2 separate regions of the Homo sapiens genome follow, and region 2 is linked to region 1. The links are contacts of gene promoters, found by promoter capture Hi-C in human tissues and cell types (Jung and others, 2019). All regions are on one chromosome and are shown on one strand. Each heading gives the region's core, a stretch centred on a gene start or on the middle of the fragment in contact. The rest is flanking DNA. Distances are from core to core; before and after follow the strand shown. Region 1 holds the start of ASF1A (anti-silencing function 1A histone chaperone). Region 2 has its middle 94 kb from the start of NUS1.

Region 1 (4,407 bases), core at 1,003-3,502:
CATTATGTGGGACCCCCTTGGGTACTTAATAAAGACATTCACAGTGACCCATCTGTTGTACAATTAGATGTTTGGGAGTCACCAAAGTTGTTCAGCAACAAGTCCTACTGATTGCCTCTGAAACCAGAGAGAGGCTTTCACAATTCTTTTTTTCCTACAGCATACCAGTTAAATTAGAAATATGCCAGGACATATCTGAGGAATCCTTTCGGTCTCTCCTGGAGTAAGGTAGTATCAATGGTGAGGAAACTATTGAACAAAGTGCTCAACGACCCTTTAGTATTTCTGACAAGCAATAATACAAGAGTTAAGACAGGAGAAGCCTGGAGCTAATTCTTGCAGCTTCCAGTGAAATGTTGGGGAGTTTTTTCTTCTTAAATACTGTTGCATATGATGTGTTAAACAAAAAATTTTAAAGAAAATAAGCCAAATTAGTGGCATTCAGGTAGATCTTCTCAGTCCTTCATGCTGCACATCCACCAAAAGTGAGTTTTACAACTAGTCTCATTGTAACACTTACGGTCAGACTGCAAAATGCACGTGATTTTAACAAGCATAAAATGTCGTTTTCATGAGACTGACTAGACTCTCCTCTTAAGAGTACCTGTAATAATCAGACAACTGCATACACCAGTCTCACAGGAGTTTTAATCTTCAAATGGTCATTTTATCTTACATATACAGAGTGTCTTACAGCATACAGCAATTTCCACTTTATCTGCTAGTGTTAGGACCAGCACTAATAAGAATGAAGAGTATGTTGTTTATCAGCCACAAAAATCTGTGTCTATCACCATGGTTTGACTCTTAATACTCTAATGTCACAAACAACTGGCTTGAAGAAGTGTTTTTTGGTAGGTCCTATATCTAACTGTTCAATCCACTGACAAAAAAAGGGAACTCTTCCCCACTCTAACCGGTTTTCCTAAATGTACGAGGGGTTGACATTAGCTGTCTCACATTAACTTTCAAAAGACCATCAGATGAAAACGTTTCATCAAAAGCCACCTACTTAAGTATGAACAATGACCAAAGAATGACAAATCAAAATTCTGGGCACTATACTAAGAGAAAACTCTTCCAGAACACATACTTAAGAATTAATTTTCTCTCTGAATTTGGCCAAGTTTGGTGGTTTCATTCACAACATTTAAGGAAAAAAATGATGGTTTATGGCTAGCAGATAATAAAACAAACCTTTATACCACTTACTAAATAGAAACGGTTTAGGCTCACAAATATGTTAAAGCTTTCTCTTTCCCCGCAATGGTAGCCAAGCAGCATAAACGAATCAACATTTCCTCAGTTCAGACCTCAACTGGTTACAGGCAAGCAAGGGCTCCTCAGAATTTGCTTTACTAACGGTTTAGGTCAGAAATTTTTTTGAAGATCAAATGTCTTGCTATGTCTTTGTGTTCTTTTTCCCATCTCTATTACGTTTGTTGCCCTGTTGGTCTCCTAACACTTCCATTTTCTCCTTTTATGTTCCTGCTATGCTCTCCAAATGGCAGTAACCTGAAGTATAACTGATCACACCTCTTGTGATTTTTTTTTATTCTAGGACTTCCCAGATCTGGACTCCGAAGAAGACGCCCAGGTGCAAGCCCAAAGGTTACCTATTTAAATTTTCCAAGCACAGTGTGTAGAAAATCATTCCTCGCCCTTCATTTTGTGTTGCTTAACGGCGCTGTCGTGCCTAAACGTAGATACTGGCCAAGAGCTAGATTTCCAAAATGGCTTTGCTCCTTTCGAGCTGACATCGGTCTATAACATGCAATTTATTTCCCCTGCAGCCAATCTTTCTCTCTACTCCAAATACTACCCGATACGCAGAAAGCTGAACCTAACCCAGTGTAAACACCGACTCTCATCTGCTAAATTCAGCAAGGCCGGCAAAGCTGTTGCACTGATGTAAAAAGAGCGTTAAATCAAAAAACCAAAAAAACAAAAAAAAAAACAAAAAAACGCCAAAACACCCACACGAAGCCAACTGGAGGGGCGGGCGTCGGCCGGATCGCGCCCTCCCGCCGCAGCCACGCCTCCCCGCCGCGGCCACGCCCCCTCCGCCCCTCTCCGCGCCGCCGCCGGCGGCCTCCGCGCGGGCCTCCCAGCCCTTATTCCACTCACTTTGTTCTCCGCCTTTGTCCTAATCCACACCAGCAGGTGGAGCCGCAGTTAAAGTTTCCGAGTCCATTCCGGGAGCGGGAGCCCATCTTGCTGGCTGCCGAGGCCCTCGCTGGAGGAGGAGGGTCAGAACTCGGGTGCAGCCAATCGAGGGCAACGCTGCTACTTATCAGAGCAGAATGGGCTGTAGTTTAGTGAAATAGGAAAGCTGCAAAACACTGTGGAGTGCTCCCGTGTAAATAAAAAGAGGAAAAAAGTTTCTCAAGTCGCCGCTGCACGACGTCTGGCCGGCGCTGGAGCGGGGGTCTGCGCTCTCCCGAGCGGCCGCGCGCTGGACTTTATTGTGCCGCAACCAGCCCCAGTTCCCATTGTTTGTGTTTTTTTCAAAATATGGCAAAGGTTCAGGTGAACAATGTAGTGGTGCTGGATAACCCTTCTCCTTTCTACAACCCGTTCCAGTTCGAGATCACCTTCGAGTGCATCGAGGACCTGTCTGAAGGTGAGTGCGGCGCCCGTGCGCCCGGGCTGTCAGTTGCGGGCTGCAGACGTTGAAAGTTTCCCGGGCCGGGCCTCGCGCTGGGCGGCTGTGTTCGGCGCCTGGCGGCCGCGGGCTGCTCTGCGGAGGGAAACTTGAAGTTGATGGACGACGGCCGCCGAGGCGCGCGCGGCTTTCCGCCGCAGCCCAGGCGCCTGCCGGGCTCAACTTGCGAGGAACTTGTTTGAGCGGAGGAGCGGAGGTAGCCATGTTGTCAGCTTTGTCTGCGGGCGGGCAGCTCGGAGACCCGCACTCGCTCCCGCTGCGCCGCCTGAGGTCGCGCCGGGCTGGCTCCGCGCCGCCAACAGCCTCCGCGACCCTCCGGGCCCGAGCACGGAGGCTGGGAAGGGAGAGGCTGTGCGTGTGGTCGCGCCGGCGAGTTCGGAGCGGAGCCATCTTACCCCGAGTCGAGAATTGGGCCAGCGACCCCGGCGCACGGCGCCTCCTCTTGCCCCGCCGCCCGCCTGCCCCCGGCGAAAGGCAGGCAGGCACTCTCGAGAGCTCACGGTGGAGTCGCCGCACTCTCCGGGCTGGCCATGCCTGGCCGCTTCGGGGAGGAGAGCGAGGCTGTCCTCGCGCTGATTTCTGGCTTCCTCGACCAACCAGCGGGGGAGGCGGGCGCAGGCTCGGCCCCTCCGCGCCGCGGGCTGGGCGCCGGCGCTCCCCGGGGGCCGTGGGTCCTGTTCGGCCGGTCCTCCTCGGCCGGCGCCCGGGATGCGCCGGGATGCTGGCGCGCAGGCTCCCCAACCAACGTGGACTCCTTTCCCCTAATGACGAAAAGCTAATTTCAGGAAGAGAAATAGAGCTGAGGTAGGAAGTTACATTTAACCTAAAAGCAGAAATAAGATACTTAAATAATTTCCAGGACTTAATCTCTGCCTTATAAATAGTCTGAAGGAAGACTTTCTTCAAGACCGTGTTGAAATCTAAAATAACTCCACATCCAAATACAGAACACACCCTAAACATAAAACACAAACGTAGGCTAGGAAATTAAGGTCAACTCCTCATGTCAGTCCAAGAATTCTTGGTATTTTTTCTACATATATTTTAAGGTCTTAAAAATACGTATTTTTAATATCTTTAGTAATAAATATTTAGAAAGCTAAAACGACAATTATCTTTGCTTTAATTATCTTTTACTAAAGTAATTCAGTGCTTCATTTGCCAGTTTTGAAGGGGAAATAGTTTAACTTCATCGATGAGGGACATACTTTGAACTAGAAGTATATGTAAAAAATGCATTGAAGATGATTTAGGTAATCGTGGCATGTAAAACTTTTCATTTTAAAAACTAGTTTTTAATCTCTAAAATGTATATATCATATGTAAGGTTAATTTTAATTATAAAACAATATATATTCATTGTAATAAACTTTTAGAAAGTTGTACAGGCATATATAAAGTTAACAGTTCTCTGTACTCAGTGCCTTGCCCTATCTCCTTTCGGTAATCACAATTATTACTTTAACATGTGCCCCCGTTTTTTTTTTTTTTTTAAACCTATATAGAGCATAAATGCACATACATATATAGGGCAAATTTTGAAAGATGATTCATTTATTAAAATAATTTCAAATAGGCCATTGATAACACTAAGGGGTATTTTTCTTATTACTCTGAAGTCATTTGATTACTCTCCTATGATACTACTATTAATATAAGCATTGCAGCTACCAGGCCCATTTTTCACACCCAACAGTAATTTTTTTTTTATTGCCAACTGCATATAAAAATAGACAAAAGAA
Region 2 (4,979 bases), core at 154-2,653, 1.1 Mb before region 1:
TGTGCCCTATAAATATGTGCAATTATTTATGTATCAATAAAAAACAAAGAGTATTTTAAAAATACATCTGGGTGCCAAAATTCATAACAAAAAGTTATGATTCTGTATATAAGCATGATGTTCATTATTTTAGTATTTCTGCACAAAGGACTTTTCTAACTTGTTGCAAGCTTTCATTAGGAGTAGAATTATAGCCATTGTATTTATTTTTCTTGTTTTGTTTTTATGGCTAGGCACATGATTTAGGGAAAATTTACTTGGAGAAATCACATATCTGTTACATATGCTACATGAAATAGGGAGGACCGAATTCTTTCATCAGAGTACAGAAATTGATTAGACATATACATCCCTACCTCATAGGAGAGGAAAGCTTTATTTGGTGTATCCTGAGACTATTCAAGTATGGAGCTTCTGGAGCGAAGGATTCATTGTACTTCTCAGTTACTAGATGAAGATTCTCATATTGACACTGCACATCTTCATGCAACTCTTTGGGCTGCTGGAATGCTCAGAAGTAAATTTAGATTTTACTTCTATTGAGCATTTTTATAAACTCTTCATATTATAATTTTTAGCCTTATTTTTCATTAAACTCAATTTCTTTTGACTATATCACTTGGGCGCTCTTGCCAATCTTGAGTTCTGCCAGTGGGAGACTACAGAACATTAAACTGGTGGAAGGAAAAATGGAACATTTTCCCTGCTCCTTACCCACTTGGGCCTGCATTTATGCTGGTGCCAGCATCCATCCACATTTGTACCTCCTGTTGAGAGGGAGGCCCTTCCCCCACAACTCTAGCTTTCACTAGATTCTGATAGCCCTACTCGCTCTTGCTCCTTCAGGTCTGGGAGTGGTGCTGGCTTTCTGCTCTTGCCAGTGTCTGAGTGCAATATCCCTTATTGGTTTCCCTTATTGATTAGGGAATAACCAATATGTGAAAACCAATTGGTCCTGGCTTCCTGCTCTTGCCAGTGAGTGCAGTATCCCTTATTGGTTTCCTCGGCCCTCTGCACACATGGGAGGAGTAGCGGGGTAGTCTTTTAATTAATATTTTTTGAATTATCAGAGTTGGACTCAGTTTCCTATTAGGTACCTGACTGATACCCACCCCTTCCTCAAAGACATTTTACTGCCCTCTATTGAAACCTTTCATAAGCAATTGTATACATGTATCTCCAGTGTGAACTGTGCCACTTAGATGTGGGTTGGAGTAAACAATCCAAAGCACAGCAAAATGAGAGGGACAGAAGTTTTAACTTAATAAGGGGAATCCATCCTCCATACCTCTATAAAGGAACACCAAAGCCTCTCCACTTAGTCTCAGAGTGTCACCTGCGTATGCTTCCTCATTCTCAAAGTTTCTCTCTTCAGTCCTTTCTCTCGTCCTCACTCAGCAGCTTCTTTCAGTTTTTCTCATTGAGTATTTTGTCTCTCCCTTGGGAAACTCCACCCTTCACCAAGTAGAGTTGTCCAAGCCACAGTCCTTTCGTGTGTCTGGTAAGTTCCACCTCAGATTTAGCAGGAAAGAAATGTTAGGGGTTTTTCTTCTCCAAAGAATATGCTGACTCTGAAGAGAGGAGAGTTGAGTTCTGATCCAACAAGCATGGGGTTGGAGTTCCAGATAGAGGTGGACAGTGAATGCCTTTATTCTAGCTTGGGTTTCCACAAGGTATATGGCTGTGATCAGTTGTTTCTCAATTAGACAAGGGTATCATCGTGAAGAAAATTAATTTTTTCTGGAGACGACATTGTATATTCTCACCCAGTGATTATATTTCTTCTATTAACAGTATTTTAACCCTATTCCTTGCATACACACACACACAACCAAGTATTGTTGTATTAAGCTAGCATTATTTTCTTAGGTTTTCATGATATAGAAACCTACCTTTAGCGAAGTTGCTGAATAATCTGGGCTGGGTGGTGCCATGTTCAAATAGTTTTTCCTGATTGCCAATCTCAGATACCCACCTTATAATGCAATCACAGATTGTGCTAATTCAGTGTAAAATACTCTTAAAGTACCTTGATGCATGTGTCGATTAAGTTAATGGTTCTCAGCTGGGACCAATTTTACTTCACAGGTGATGCTGGCGATTGAAAACATTTTGGAATGTAACTGAGGGGAAGAGGTTATTACTAGAGGACAGAGGCCAGGAATGGTCCTAAACATCCTACAACGCACAGGACAGGCTCACATAACAAAGAATTATCCAGTTCAAAACTCCCCTCAGGGAGCTTTCATCCGTGTTTTGATTAGGGAGGTAAAATCACTAAGACTTACTTTTGGACATGTCCTTATGGGATTGTGCTCTGATTTGAAGCAGAACCACTTCTGTGGATAAAAGGCCAAAGTGTCCTCATTTTCCAAATTTCTCCCTTACAATGACTCACACACACACTCATTCACTCAGAGGAAATCAAGATAAAGAGCAAGAAGCTTCAAAATCTCAGCCTGACAGAGGGTGTGTGATGAAGGTTAGGGTTCAATTTGCTCCCTTCATCTTGGAGACAGGGAGGCAAGTTTGGACAGTACTGGTATTAGAAGGAATTCCTTCCTACTCCTCTCCCTTCTTCACTCATATCTGGCCTCACTGGCAGGGTTTCCAGATAAAATATAGGATGTCCTGCTGTCTTAGCTTAAGCTGCCATAACAAAATACCACGGATTAGGTGGCTTAAACAACACACATTTATTTCTCACAGTTTTGGAGGGTGGGAAGTCCAAAAGGAAGGTATCGGCAGGTTTGGTTCCTGGTGAGGGCTGTCCTTCTGGCTGCCAGGTGCCCACGTTATCACTGTGTCTTCACATGGCCTTTCCTTGGTGCATGGCTGTGGAGAGACCCCTCTCTCTCTCTCCATATAAAGCCACCAATCCCATTAGACTAGGATCCCACCTTTATGTCCTTATTTAATTACCGTCTAAAAGTTCTATCTTCAAAGATAGTTACAGTATGGGTTAGAGCTTCAACATACGAACTTTAGGGAGAACACATTTCAGTCTGTAGCACCAGTTAAATTTGAATTACAGATAAACAACAAATAATTTACTGGGCATACTTATATTAAACATTATTCATTGTTAATCCAACATGTAAAATTTAATTGGAAATCCTGTATTTTTATTGGCTAAATCTGCCAAACCTCTTCCCTGGGCCATTAGCTGGCATTGGCAACACAGACCCTGTTCTAGGATCAAAAACACAGGAGGAATGTGATGGATTCCAGAGTCACATTTCTACAGGATAGGTCTGATTTTGCCTAAAAAACATATCCCCTTCCCTTTGCTTGTCTGTCATTTGGAGAAACTTCTTTACTAACACCAGTGCATGGTTGTTGCAAGTGCAACTGTGCCCTTTCCAGAATGTGAAAAGAATAAATGTTGCCATTTACAATTAGAGTATTAATTTTATTTTTTTCTATGTGATACAGATATTGAATAATTTGGAAAGTAAAGGGGAATTTTTGTTATGGCTTTTATAATTTTCAGCCTCAAATTTAATAACAATATTATTTATTGATGATTAATAAGTCATCATTTTATTACCTCATTTTTAATATAGCATTTTGCTATACTCTGCCATAAATTTTCATATATTATCATTTACCTCAAGGAACTTATTAAAATACTGTCAGTTATTCAATTTTCTACAACTTTCAAAAAAATTATAAAAATACCAAAAGAATGACTCCAGGTCTTTCTCTGTGGTGTGTCTGTGTTTTGGTTATGCTTATATTTTCTCATTCATTAATTGACAAATATTTTTTAATACATATAGTGAACCGGACATTTGATAAGCATAACTAAGACCCTCTTACTGGATTTCTGAACTTCACACTTTGACAAACGTAACACAATTGCTTGGCAGTTTGTATTAGTTGCATGTTGCTATGTAACAAATTAGCTCAAATCTGGAAGCAATAGCGTTTCTATGTCACAGTTTTCTACAGGTCAAGAATCTGGGTACAGCTTATCTGGGTCCTGTGCTCCAGAGCCTCAGAGGTTTCAGAGTTGACGAGGGCTATGGTCTTATGGTGTGAGTGAGAAATGAGCCTTTCTAAGCTTCCTTGTGAGGTTGTGGCAGGATTCAGTTCCTCAAAGGTTGTTGGACTGAGGGCCTCAGTTCCTCACTGGCTGTTGGCCAGAAGCTGCTCTCAGTTTCTCACCACATGGGCCTCACCATATGATAGTTCAGAACATGACTGCTAGTTTCTATTAGAGAAGTCAAGTGACAGGGCCAGAGAGAGAGTGCCAGCATGACCAAAATAATCTTTTGTAACCTAACCATGGAAGTGACATTCTAAGACTTTTGCTATATTTTATTTGTTAGAAGGAAGTCTCTAGGTCCAGCCCTTAGGAGAAATTAATGTTAGGGGCAAAAACTGAAGCCATTTTTAAGATACTACTTTAACTTCTGGCCTTTGTTTTTCAAAAAGTCTAACTCATTGAAGTGATTAATATAAGTTATCTTGAAGGACAGAGGAGAATAGAGGGGAACAATTTTCAAGTTAAGGAGAGAGGGTGGGAAAGATTTCCTCAGGAGTAAAGAGGCTAGAAGTCTGACAGCCTGTTGAGAACAATTGCCCTAGGGATAAATGAGATGAGGGACCAGAGCTGATTCTACCTGGGTGTAAAGGTAATAAATGGACATTTCTTACACACCTGTGTAAATCTGTACACCGAGAATCTTTGTTGTTTTTGATATTTATCAACGTTTATTCACTTTAGGAGTTGACATGTGACTAAGAGGGGACAAAAACCAATGTTTTAAACTAACTGCATAGTCATTTTATGGATATAAATCTTAGTGTGTTTGATTTAAATGGGTTGCTGTAGAATTTGGTAAGACCTTTTAAGTTATGTCAGAGAGAATTTGTTCCAGAGCAATTATGATGCTTGCAGCCAACTTAATATTCATTTTCATAATTATTTTCCAATACATGAAATGCTGTAAAAAGACCAGAACAAATGAATT

Evidence for each region. Contacts are between HindIII fragments. The study calls those that stand out against the background at their distance.
Region 2: a fragment that was not itself captured here is called in contact with the fragment with the promoter of ASF1A in region 1 in 1 of the 25 tissues and cell types used here (lymphoblastoid cells).

What each region holds. Positions count from the first base shown.
Region 1 is chr6:118,891,900-118,896,306 of GRCh38, forward strand. It overlaps ASF1A (anti-silencing function 1A histone chaperone), which reads left to right and starts at 2,253. Exons shown (of 4, transcript NM_014034.3): 1 at 2,253-2,623. The coding sequence starts at 2,515. All of the region lies in intron 8 of MCM9 (minichromosome maintenance 9 homologous recombination repair factor), which reads right to left. RefSeq lists silencers at 1,988-2,127, 2,918-3,447 and an enhancer at 2,448-2,537. The HindIII fragment of the contact is 10,588 bases long and covers 346-4,407 here.
Region 2 is chr6:117,767,476-117,772,454 of GRCh38, forward strand. No RefSeq gene overlaps it. Among named protein-coding and RNA genes, the nearest start is that of NUS1, 94 kb to the left of the region's middle. RefSeq lists an enhancer at 4,217-4,286. The HindIII fragment of the contact is 3,703 bases long and covers 1-3,255 here.